Linked DNA regions of Homo sapiens: region 1 is linked to region 2. The links are contacts of gene promoters, found by promoter capture Hi-C in blood cells and fetal thymus (Javierre and others, 2016). All regions are on one chromosome and are shown on one strand. Each heading gives the region's core, a stretch centred on a gene start or on the middle of the fragment in contact. The rest is flanking DNA. Distances are from core to core; before and after follow the strand shown.

Region 1 (6,858 bases), core at 76-2,575, 170 kb after region 2:
TTCTCTTGTGGAGAACCTTGGATTGCTGCTTAGGTTAAGAACCCTCATCTGCTTCATTGTTCAAAACCAGTGCTCCTGGGTAGCTACCAAGTGGCAGTGCATATCTGTTAGTAGCACGTGTGTACAAGACACTTCAAGAAGGCAGAAAGGTAGGAGTTCTCAGAAAGATGAAACCACTGCCACAATGCACATCATTATTGTGATTCTCACTTAATTGTTGTTCTTTCCCAATATACTCGGTTTGGTGGAAGGACATGCTCTTTTGCATCCCTGAGTAGCTTTCCTAGACCCACAAGGGCCAGACAGGACAGCTGGGTGGTAGGCATGAGGTTCTGTGTTTTACATCACAGCGTGGCCACACAAACCAGTGCAGACATGAGAGCCCAGACACCTCTAATTTATCAACATACCGTCGAGCTTGGCCCAGGGGACATCCATCAGAACTCCTGTTTAGGGACAAACAAGCAGAATTCATTTTCCTATTGCTAATGAGGGAAATAGGATCTTCTTAAAATTAGTAAAACTTTTTCTCGACTTTAATGTAAGAAAACACACCGACAAATCTCCTTTTCCCCTGCAGGGCTGTGCATTCTTGTGGGGGTGTCCATCTACACTAGTCATTATGCGAATCGTGATGGAACGCAGTATCACCACGGCTATTCCTACATCCTGGGCTGGATCTGCTTCTGCTTCAGCTTCATCATCGGCGTTCTCTATCTGGTCCTGAGAAAGAAATAAGGCCGGACGAGTTCATGGGGATCTGGGGGGTGGGGAGGAGGAAGCCGTTGAATCTGGGAGGGAAGTGGAGGTTGCTGTACAGGAAAAACCGAGATAGGGGAGGGGGGAGGGGGAAGCAAAGGGGGGAGGTCAAATCCCAAACCATTACTGAGGGGATTCTCTACTGCCAAGCCCCTGCCCTGGGGAGAAAGTAGTTGGCTAGTACTTTGATGCTCCCTTGATGGGGTCCAGAGAGCCTCCCTGCAGCCACCAGACTTGGCCTCCAGCTGTTCTTAGTGACACACACTGTCTGGGGCCCCATCAGCTGCCACAACACCAGCCCCACTTCTGGGTCATGCACTGAGGTCCACAGACCTACTGCACTGAGTTAAAATAGCGGTACAAGTTCTGGCAAGAGCAGATACTGTCTTTGTGCTGAATACGCTAAGCCTGGAAGCCATCCTGCCCTTCTGACCCAAAGCAAAACATCACATTCCAGTCTGAAGTGCCTACTGGGGGGCTTTGGCCTGTGAGCCATTGTCCCTCTTTGGAACAGATATTTAGCTCTGTGGAATTCAGTGACAAAATGGGAGGAGGAAAGAGAGTTTGTAAGGTCATGCTGGTGGGTTAGCTAAACCAAGAAGGAGACCTTTTCACAATGGAAAACCTGGGGGATGGTCAGAGCCCAGTCGAGACCTCACACACGGCTGTCCCTCATGGAGACCTCATGCCATGGTCTTTGCTAGGCCTCTTGCTGAAAGCCAAGGCAGCTCTTCTGGAGTTTCTCTAAAGTCACTAGTGAACAATTCGGTGGTAAAAGTACCACACAAACTATGGGATCCAAGGGGCAGTCTTGCAACAGTGCCATGTTAGGGTTATGTTTTTAGGATTCCCCTCAATGCAGTCAGTGTTTCTTTTAAGTATACAACAGGAGAGAGATGGACATGGCTCATTGTAGCACAATCCTATTACTCTTCCTCTAACATTTTTGAGGAAGTTTTGTCTAATTATCAATATTGAGGATCAGGGCTCCTAGGCTCAGTGGTAGCTCTGGCTTAGACACCACCTGGAGTGATCACCTCTTGGGGACCCTGCCTATCCCACTTCACAGGTGAGGCATGGCAATTCTGGAAGCTGATTAAAACACACATAAACCAAAACCAAACAACAGGCCCTTGGGTGAAAGGTGCTATATAATTGTGAAGTATTAAGCCTACCGTATTTCAGCCATGATAAGAACAGAGTGCCTGCATTCCCAGGAAAATACGAAAATCCCATGAGATAAATAAAAATATAGGTGATGGGCAGATCTTTTCTTTAAAATAAAAAAGCAAAAACTCTTGTGGTACCTAGTCAGATGGTAGACGAGCTGTCTGCTGCCGCAGGAGCACCTCTATACAGGACTTAGAAGTAGTATGTTATTCCTGGTTAAGCAGGCATTGCTTTGCCCTGGAGCAGCTATTTTAAGCCATCTCAGATTCTGTCTAAAGGGGTTTTTTGGGAAGACGTTTTCTTTATCGCCCTGAGAAGATCTACCCCAGGGAGAATCTGAGACATCTTGCCTACTTTTCTTTATTAGCTTTCTCCTCATCCATTTCTTTTATACCTTTCCTTTTTGGGGAGTTGTTATGCCATGATTTTTGGTATTTATGTAAAAGGATTATTACTAATTCTATTTCTCTATGTTTATTCTAGTTAAGGAAATGTTGAGGGCAAGCCACCAAATTACCTAGGCTGAGGTTAGAGAGATTGGCCAGCAAAAACTGTGGGAAGATGAACTTTGTCATTATGATTTCATTATCACATGATTATAGAAGGCTGTCTTAGTGCAAAAAACATACTTACATTTCAGACATATCCAAAGGGAATACTCACATTTTGTTAAGAAGTTGAACTATGACTGGAGTAAACCATGTATTCCCTTATCTTTTACTTTTTTTCTGTGACATTTATGTCTCATGTAATTTGCATTACTCTGGTGGATTGTTCTAGTACTGTATTGGGCTTCTTCGTTAATAGATTATTTCATATACTATAATTGTAAATATTTTGATACAAATGTTTATAACTCTAGGGATATAAAAACAGATTCTGATTCCCTTCATTGTGTGAATGTTTTTTTCTAAAAAAAATGTGGAGAAATATGGATAATTATGACATTTATCCCTCATTAAGCTGCCTATCAGTTTGATTTGGACAACTTGACATTTATTTGAGACATTAAGCTACTTTCTGGTAATATATTAGGCATTTCTGCAATAGCTCTTTCAGGTAACTGAATATTATTAAGCATAGTTTTATCTTGCTTTGATTAAACCTCTTAGGCAAAAAATGGAACTTCATAAGCTAATACATTAGAAAGGGGTTATGATTATAAATCAGAAATGCTTGTGACATTAAGAAATGAGGCACTTGTGAAATTTCTTTGAAATAGCCAGCTCCTCTAATGTGTCTTCAAAATATAAAGTGATTCACAAAGGCATGCATCACACCTATTTGTAGCAGCCCATTCATTACATAAACCAGGGCATACCTGTGTGGGCTCTGTGAGTGAAGGGAGGCTTCACTACTTTCTGTGAGCAGTAAGGACTGGTATCTTTCTGTGAGCAATAAGGACTGGATAAAGACTGCATATCCTTGTGTCGTGTCAGCACCAATACAATAAGGAGGGTTTTAATGTGAAGCAGGCAATCTTCCAGCCCCTTCTGGTCTTGGATGAAATAGTTGCACAGAGTATTGCACCAAAAATACACAATGGAGGCTGAAAAGTTCAACATATTTTAAGTCAATTAATCAAATTGCATTGATTCTTGATGCTTTCTTAGAGGCCTACATGATTTCTTAGATTGCTCTGATAAACTATCATAAGGGGTCCACCTCCCCTCATTTAGCTCCCCCAGGGATTTCTTTTCCCCCATGTCATACACCCAGTCCTAAATCAACCCCCAAGGCTATCCTTCCATCCCTTCTGCAGAGGGAACTTTTGTCAGACTCTGCAACAAACTCCTAGCTCTATCCAGAGTGTCCTCTGCTGCTAAGATTGGTATCTTTCTCCTCAAAAGCCTGGATGGTGAATGGGGGTGCATTAGTCAGAATTCTCCAGAGAAACAGAAAAAATAAGATTCGCGTGTGTGTGCAAACATATATATAAATAAATAAAAATATATTTATTTTAAGGAATTGACTCACATGATTTTGAAGGCAGGCAAGCCCAAAGTCTGCAAGGGGTGGGCCAGCAGAGAGCTGGTGCTACAGTGCGGGTCTGAAAGTTGCCAGAGTCCCTTTTATAGAGAAGCTTAAAAAATATTTGTTGAATTAAATGTCTTAGGTAGAGACAAATTGAATTAAAGTGGTTAAGTAAATACTCTTAGGTGAAATTTGTGCAAATTATGAGTATAAAGAGGGTGAGCTACAGAACTCTCCATGACCACTCAAGAATGGGACCCAAAGGCAAATGATAACTTATTCATTCATCAAGGGATAAACTTGAGTTATCAAATGGTTAATAGATAAAGATCCCACTCTGCCTTGGATTTAGCCATCGCAGTCCCTGTGTAAAACCCCACCGGCTTTCAGGCATGGAAAAAAATTTCACAAAGGCCTTGAAAGAAGGCATATGAAGACCAAAAGGATATTGAGCAGGGTTCCATACTTGAATAAAGGAAGAAACTCCCTTCAATGTTTACTAAGAAATAGTTAGAATATAGCATATCCTGTATAGATGAAATGTCCTAGCGAAAATGTTTAAATGTATTTAAAGAAGAGCTAGATTTTGTGGGGGGAGAGAAGGGAATAGGATAGGCTGGTGGGAGGAAGAATGAAAAGAAGAAAACTTGTTGGAAATTTTGGAGTAGATTGTGAGGAGGGGTGACTCACTTTAAAGATGTATCATTTGGAGGTAGACACGATTTTCAGAGCACAAAACAGATAAGGAAAGATGTATGCTGATTGTGTGGAGCCCAAGGGAAGGCGGGGTTTTGGAGTCTTACGTGGCTTTGTTTCTGAAAGGGAGACATGTGAAGCCTACTCCTGAGGCGGGAGGCTGGGGACATGACCATCAAGACCTATAATTGATAAACAACTAGGGGCTGGGTGCTGCACCTACATGCTGGGGAAATAGAAAATGAAGCAGACATGTGTCCCATCTTCTTCCAGCTTTCAGTCTAGCTTGGAAATAAATCTCATACCTAGAGAAAATGGAGGATCTGTGGGATGTAGATGAGGTGGGAGCATGAATGCCTAGGGAGGGAAGAAGAAAGATTTTCAGTTCTTCAGCTTTTCCTCATGACCCTATCTCATGCCATGAGCAATTGTCTGGCATCTCCTGTGGGTTGGACCACTGCTGCATTTCTTACTTGCCAACATCACTTTGTCCCAAATGCCATTCCTTTGTTCCAGGGCCTCCTTGTCTTCCATCTGGGGAACTGGAGGTGAGAAGCATTATAATAGCCTCTCTGCCTTTATCTACAATCTCTCCAACCTGTGCTTTATGCTGATGTCAGGATGGGCGTTGATGGATGCTTCTATCACTGTCGGGGCAGGGAGGGCCAGAACACTAGCATAAGATGTCAATATGTCTATCCATATGTCAGGTCCATACTCAACTCAAGCTTCTGGTTAACTGCTGATCTATTGGCAACTCCAGTTCCCAATAAGTTCCTCATCTCCTTCTGAGACCACCTCAGTGTGGACTTAATCGTCCACATCACTGTCAGCATTTTGGTTAAAACCATTCAACAAGTCTCCAGGAAGCTCCAAACTTTCCTTCATCTTCCTGTCTTCTTCTGAGCCCTCCAAACTCTTCCAACCTCTACCCGTTACCCAGTTCCAAAGGTGCTTCCACACTTTCAAGTATCTTTATAGCAATGCCCCACTCCTGGTACCAAATTCCTGTATTAGTCTGTTTTCACACTGCTATGAAGACATACTTGAGACTCGGTAATTTATATAGAAAAGAGGTTTAATTGACAAAAAAGCTAACAAAGTGAGCCCTGATTCAAAAATGACTGTCTACACTTGGCACATGAGGGACTTTATGATATTAAGAGATTAATTAAACAACAGTGGATGGGGAGGAAGAACAGACTTTTGAGCTCTTCCCAATATAGGAATGTGTTAGTTCTAAAAATTTTCTTAAGTTGTTTGCTTGGAACTCAGAGTATATTTTTCCATACGAAAAATTCAGAACTATTTTATTTATGATATGGGCTAAAAAGACTTCTGTAATCTAGCTTGGAAACTTAATAATCATTAAACTTATTTTCAATGAGATACGACTGTTTAAATTCTGAAACCTGGAACCCTCTGTTGCCCTGCAAATGCTTTAGGAAAAGAAGAGTGTGTCTGATGGAGGATAAGATGGAAAGTGAATATGGATCCATATTCAGAAGACACGGTTGCATTACAGCAAAGGAACAGCTTTTTGCTGGCCATGCTAAGCATTTGACATTGATGTGGGAGAACATGGCATTCAGTATGACTCTGTCTGGATATATATAGTTTTGTAAATTGGGTGTTCTTAAGTTGAGACTGCATGTTTCATTCCAAAATCAATCTTAGTTTTCCCACTTGCATTAGCATATTGTATTAGTCCGTCTTCACACTGCTATAAAGACATACCCGAGACTGGGTAATTTATAAAGAAAAGAGGTTTAATTGACTCACAGTTCTGCATGGCTGGGGAGGCTTCAGGAAACTTATAATCATGGCAAAAGGGGAAGAGGTACGTCTTACATGGTGACAGGGGAGAGAGAGCATGCAAGAGAAGGGAAAACTGCATTATAAAACCATAAATTTTATAGAACCCACTATCCCAAGAACAGCATGAGGGAACCACCCTCATGATCCAATCACCTTCCACGGGGTCCCTCCCTCAACACATGGGGATTTGGGGGATTACAATTCAAGATGAGATTTGGGTGGGGGAACAGCCAAACCATATCATGTATCAATGCTTAAATTCAGTTTATCTGGGAATTTTGAATGATTCCAACTCCTTAGTATAGACATTTACAGGCTTTTGGGCATTATGAAATCGTACTATTTTTAATTTGATTTCACCACTTCTCCTCTGTCTTATAAAAAGCTGACATTGAGCACATGTGTCCTTATAATTTTTAAGGTGAATCAAAAGTAAACCTG
Region 2 (6,259 bases), core at 676-3,175:
ATTGTGACTTGTAGTGTTGCTCCTTTTAGATGACCTACATAGATGTAAAATATGTTTTTTAATCATGCCTCCAGAGAAGTGGCAAGCAGTAGAAATTTTGGGTATTGTAGAATGTTGAAAGAATTAATAAATAAATACATTACTAAACCATTAAATTACTATGAAATGTATTATTTGTTATTAAGTTACAAATTTTAAATTGTTAAAACATTAAGAAATTATCGATAAAAGAAGAGTGAATACTTAGAAAACACTAAGTGCCAGGCACTGTTGTAAGTGCTTTCTACATATATATTTAATTCTCAGGAGAACTCTATAAACTAGGAACTGTTTTGTCCCCATTTTGCAGATGAGAAAATTGAGGTGGGGAGAAATTAAGCAACTAACCCTCTGCCTGGCATCTAGGAAATGATAGAGTCAGGATTTGATCTCGGGAGGCCTGGCTCCTGGCTCCAGAGCCTGTGCTCTATCAGAGACAATGACATTTTTTTTTTCCAAGGGAAGAAAGGAGGTGAGACTGATTGCTGGAGACTCTCAGATTACTCCCACAGGATAGTCCTGTCTGCAGTTTCTCACGGGAATTAGGCAGCCTGCAAATGAGATGTATCTTGGAGCTTTTGTTGTGACACTCAGAAGTTACATTACCTTTCTATTTCTCAGCTTTCTCTTAAACAAAACAAGGAGAGTGGGACTAGATAGCCTCTAGGATCTGTTCCAGTTCTAAGATAACACAGTATTAGCATTCCTGCACTAAAATGCTGATCACTTGCGTGTGGGAAAGAAGCAAGTCAGTTCTTCCTTCTACACCACTGTGCCTGGTCCTGAGGCAAGCCAAGTTCAGAAGTCAGAGAGGGCCTGGGTGTTTGCATTTTCCACAGTGACCTCAGTGGGTGTTTGGGCAGCAAAAGTATTCACATTCCACTCAGTAGCTAGAGAGGAACACACAGGTATTCTCTATGTAAAAGGTAAGGATCCTGATTCATTTGGCAGCTGCTTTGAATTTTTTTCTTTAATTGAAAAGAAAGTACATTAAATTTGAGAAATACTATTCTAAGCTGCAGTTCCTATGTTAAAATGGAAAAAAGTTATGGAGGGATGAAGGAGATTTCCAGAGGGACAAGGAAGACAAAGTGGGGGAAAGCTCAGGGAGCCAAGGAAGGAGGAATTCCTGGGCATCGGGCTCTCCGCAAAAATCATTCAGGCAAAGCTGGGGTGATTACGGGGAGCGTGCAGATGCCTTAAAGGTCAAGCATTGAAATCTGAGGAGCTGGAGATGCTGCATCTATTGGATGTATGTACACAGTCGGATCCTCCTTCTACACCCTTCAACTAGAAGCTGCAGCGTAGGGTGCTGAGTAGACACCTGTAAAGAACTGGGAGCAATAAATGAGGGTTCGAGCTCCAGGAAACTTCAACTTCTACCTAAGAAGCGTAATAGAAACACTCTTACTAGGTGCCTACTGTGTGCTGTGTGTTTTAAACAGGTCGTATCATTTAATTCTCATTGCAAGCTTGTGAAGTAGGTAGTATGTCTTTAATTAAAAAAAAGCAGCGGCAGCTCAGTCGCCCCAAGGGACTTGCCCAAGATGGCCCAGCTAGTAAGTGATTCAGGCAGGATTCAAATCCAGTCTGCCTGATTTCAAAGCCCACGCACATTGCACAATCCACACCTCCTTAAATATCTCCTTCGAATCATTTTCACTGCAAGCTTACGGGGTATTTTCTCCCCATTTCACTGACGAGGCAAGTGAGACTCAGAGTGGTGAGGTGACCTGCATAGGTAGGGTGGGAGAAAAGCCTGCGGAGCGTGTACTCTGGCTTGGCCTCCCTCAGCTCTGTCCCCAGCAAGCGGGTCCCACCTTTCCCGGTCCCAGCCCCACGCACCGCCGCTCGGAACTACACTTCCCGGCAGAACGCGGGCGCGCGCACGCGCACCGGGGCCTCAGCCATGGCGACCGTGCTGTCCAGGGCGCTCAAGCTGCCGGGTAAGGAGTCGCATGCTTGCGACCACCCAGTCCCCGCCGGTGTTGGAATAAGGGGAGGCGAGGCTCTGGGGGCGAGGCCGGTCGGGCCCTGGCCTCAACCCAGACTCAGCTGCAGGCGCCCGGTGCCGAGGAGGGTGCAGTCCCTTGGGGCTGGGGTCTCTGTGCCACCAGAGGGCGAGAGGGGCGCCCAGCGGGGCAGGGGTCTCGGGCGCGGGGCGAACCCGGAGACGCGCGGGGAGAGGGCGCCGAGCAGGTGTTACGGCGGGGAATGTCAGAACGCCGGTCGCCGCTGTCCCGAGGGGAGGCTGGCGAGAGGAGCATCCTTCCCGAGCGCCGCGGACCCAGCACCGCAGGGACTCCGGCGCCTTCTGTCTTGGCTGGACCTGGGCGGGGGCGGCGGGACGGCGAGTGGCCCTCTGTGGATCATCCCCTCCACCTAACGGCAGCAACGACGCATCCATGAGGCAGGTGGGACAGGTATTTACGTCCCTTCCTAGTTTACAGAAGAGAAAATGAGAGTTATTTGGCTAAGTGAATTGTCCAAGGTCTCACAAGTATTGGGAAAGCTCGGCCTTGAACGTCAGGGGTCTTTTCACTCTAAATCCTGAGCTTTTGATTCCACTTGGTCAGTCTCCAGCTGCCGAGATTAAGCATGGGAAATGATTTGGCACCTATAAGTTGAAGATAATGTATGGAATCTTCTTTAAGGCAGCATTAGGGGTGATGACAACTTCCAGAGCTGATTCAGTACTTCGGGCAGCAGCTCCAAGTTTTTTTTCCTTTTTTTTTTTTTTTCCTCCTAAACCTCCAGAGTAGGATTGTACTGTTAGAAAGTTGATATTTAAATAAAAGTATATTTATTCCACCCAAGTAAATTTTAAACATTAGGCTTTAGAAAAATTGATGGCTCTACCTAGGTAAGTTTTAAGCATTAAGCTATAAACATTTATTTGCTGATAATTTGTATTAGAGGGAAAAGCAGTTGCTTTCATAGCTATCTCTAGAGAGGGCTATTTGGGTTTTGGTTGGATAGCTAGTTTGAGCTTGCAGGGGGATTACAGGGTCCTTGTTCTCAAGGAGCTTCCAGTATGCTACCCTGAAGCGAACCTTGCCATTTGGATGACGCTAGGTTGGATATTAATTTGCGTTTCTGTCCCCAGACTTCATGACCTCAGACAGATTATTATTTTTTTTAATATGGGCTCATTGGAACATTGGAAGGAACACTGATAGCATCTGCCTTGGAATGTGTGCATAACACTGGAATTAAAGGAGAGACGTGGCCCTTTACCTGCAGGATTAATTTTTTACTTTTTTACTTTGTATATCCTTAGTGTAGAATGATGTCCTCCCAGAGGGGTAATAAGATGTCAGACATTTAGCTTTATTTCTTTTTTTTTTTTCTTTTAGAGTCCTTTTTTAAAATTTCAGTGTAGGTCATTGTTATTCTCTAAGAATGAGAATGCATGAAAATCTTGCTTTAGCAACTCTTGAGGTCTTTTGTGTTCTTATGCCCCAAGGCTGTGGTGTTATTACTCCCTGGAGTATTAGTTGTAGGAACTGGTTGGGGTTCCCATAGTCCAGTCCATGGGCCTGTTTGGCAGGCAGCTTGGCCCTGAGCCCTGAGGTATGCTTGATGCTTTTTTAGGCCCAGATATAGTAGGCATGTGTTCTTTCATGTGATGTGGGTTTTAAGAAAATGTTCACTTGCGTCTACGGCCATACCACCCTGAACGCGCCCGATCTCGTCTGATCTCGGAAGCTAAGCAGGGTCGGGCCTGGTTAGTACTTGGATGGGAGAAAATGTTCACTTGCGTTTTTCCTTGTCTCCTTCTTGCCCTTTCTTCTTCCCTCCACCCAAAATACTATTTTTAGTTTTTGCATTAGGTACAAGTTGTTTTTATATAGCTCTTTTTGGCTCCCCTGTAATTGGGGTCCTGAGACTGCTGTCCTGTTTGGGCTACTGTGTTATGTTCCTGTAGTTAACATCCCCACTGTTTTCTTTGTTTGTTTTTTTGTTTGTTTGTTTGTTTTTTTGAGACGGAGTTTTGCTCTTCTTGCCCAGGCTGGAGTGCAATTGTGTGATCTCGGCTCACCGCAACCTCCGCCTCCTGGGTTCAAGCAATTCTCCTGCCTCAACCTCCCGAGTAGCTGGGATTACAGGCATGCACCACAATGCCCAGCTAATTTTGTATTTTTAGTAGAGACAGGGTTTCTCCATGTTGGTCAGGCTGGTCTGGAACTCCCGACCTCAGGTGATCGCCTGCCTTGGCCTCCCAAAGTGCTGGGATTACAGGCATGAGCCACTGCGTCTGGCCCCAACATCCCCACTGTTTTCATGTGTGAGGAAGTCAGGTTGGAGTGGTGGCTGAGAGCATGAGACAGGCTCGGGTTCAAATCCAGTCTTTACCTAATTAGTTACTTAATCTCTTTAAGCTTTAGTTTCCTCATCTGTAACAATAACATTATTATGGAACATTCACTCTATGCCACACATTCTACTACATATTTACCTCCTAGGGTTATCTGAAATAGTAAAGGAGATGGATGTACTTAGGAGGTCTAGTAACCTCTGACATATGTTAATTAGTCAGTAAGTGTTAGCTGTTGTCATCAGCAGTGTGCTCATTTATGAATGTGATACCTGAAGGAAGGCTTGATGTAATAGTGAGCTATTGACAGATCTCAGCAGTCTTGTTATGAAAGAGCAGTTTCGCTAAGCTCAAGAAGGAAAGATGTTTGGCTCACATGCATAAAATGAGGTTAATTAGTAGCAGAAGGCCAATATGACATTCATAAAGCCTGTAGGGCAGCTTATCTCCTAAGTATATATATATTTTTTTTCTTAGGCCATTTTAAAGTTTGAAGGTCAAACACTGGAGGGAATATCAGAGCAAAATGATTTTTTATGATTTATTTTGTTTGTGTAACTTAGTCTTTATATGCCCTTGGGTAAACTAACCCATGATATGAATTATTTACCTTTAGTTGCAGTAGAGTGTATTGTATAGTATATGCACAGTATAGTGTATACTATAGTATAGTATATGTTATAGAATAGTGTATGTTTTAGTATATTTCCTGAAAACGTTTGGGTATGGTATAGTTGCATCACTTTCCTATTTGTGTTTTCCTCTCTACCATTTTGGAAATCCTATTATATTTAAGCAGCATCTTCAGTCTTCCTAAGAGGAAAAGCAATAGCTGTGGAAAGCGCATTTATAATGATTTGTTATGAAATCAGTGCCCTCTCCCTTATTCTTTGAAAACCTTTCATTCATTAAAAATTTGGGTGGTGGCTGAAAGTAGCAAGGAAGCGAGTGAGTGCTAAGTGCCCTAAGCTTGGAAGCTGGATTTGACGCCTGGCTCCTCAGCCTGAGTAGGACTTAAGGCAAGTTGGTGGACTTCTTTTAAGGCAAGTTGGTGGACTTCTTTTAAGGCAAGTTGGTGGACGTCTTTTACTTCACGCTCTCTTATTGTCTTTCTGTAAATAGATAGAAAAAATATTATTAAAGACTTCTCTAATCAAAACTTGCAGTCTGTAATCCTTAAGCGGAGGTTTGTTTTTGCAGTATCTGAAAAAAAAATTAGTATAAAAGTATTTATTCCTCTCAAAAGGCTGGCCAAGAACTGGCCCCTAGTCTTCTGTGATGTAAAGAAAGCATAGGAATATGATAACTCAGAGCGCTTGTGTGCTTGTCTTTATATTTCGGTGATGTCATGGCTGGGTCAGAATGCTTGGACATCAAATTGCATGTTCTTTCTCTGAGGACTTTTTAGATATTGCTCCGCTATCTTTTAATAGTGTATGTTACTATGGAGAAATCTTTGCCTGATTTTTGTTCCTGTCATTAGTGACTTGATTCTTTTTCCTTTGGCCTGGCTGCTTATAGGATTCCTTCTTTGTCCTTGAAGTCCTGTGCCTTTACTAGGATATATTTCAGTATTGATTCTTCTGAATCAGTTTTTCTTGGGACTCTGTGTACTCATTATTCTGCAGTTTTAGGTCTTTATTGTAGGAAGTTTTTTTTGGCAACTCTTTAAAATACTGCTTTTGGTTCTTTTCTGTTTTCTGTTATCCTCTTTTCTGTTATCCTCTTTTCTGTTATCCTCTTCGGTCATGCATATATTGGCTCACCTTTGTTGTCAGTATCTATCACGTTGTTTCTAGTCTTTTTAAAGCCTTGATTTTTTTTCCACGGGATCATATGTAGCCCGTACAGACTTTGAAGCCAGACTGGTTTTGAATTGTTACCTATCACTTGCTGTTTATC

What was found. Contacts are between HindIII fragments. The CHiCAGO score rates a contact against its expected background, and 5 or more counts as called.
Region 1: a contact is called between a fragment that was not itself captured here and the fragment with the promoter of FAM234B in region 2, in 7 of 17 cell types (monocytes, total B cells, activated CD4 T cells and 4 more). The highest score is 10.2, in monocytes.

The regions. Positions count from the first base shown.
Region 1 is chr12:13,213,954-13,220,811 of GRCh38, forward strand. It overlaps EMP1 (epithelial membrane protein 1), which reads left to right. Exons shown (of 5, transcript NM_001423.3): 5 at 581-5,988. The coding sequence ends at 738. Among named protein-coding and RNA genes, the nearest start is that of EMP1, 21 kb to the left of the region's middle. The HindIII fragment of the contact is 5,370 bases long and covers 1-4,010 here.
Region 2 is chr12:13,042,456-13,048,714 of GRCh38, forward strand. It overlaps FAM234B (family with sequence similarity 234 member B), which reads left to right and starts at 1,926. Exons shown (of 13, transcript NM_020853.2): 1 at 1,926-1,985. The coding sequence starts at 1,949. The HindIII fragment of the contact is 2,713 bases long and covers 1,707-4,419 here.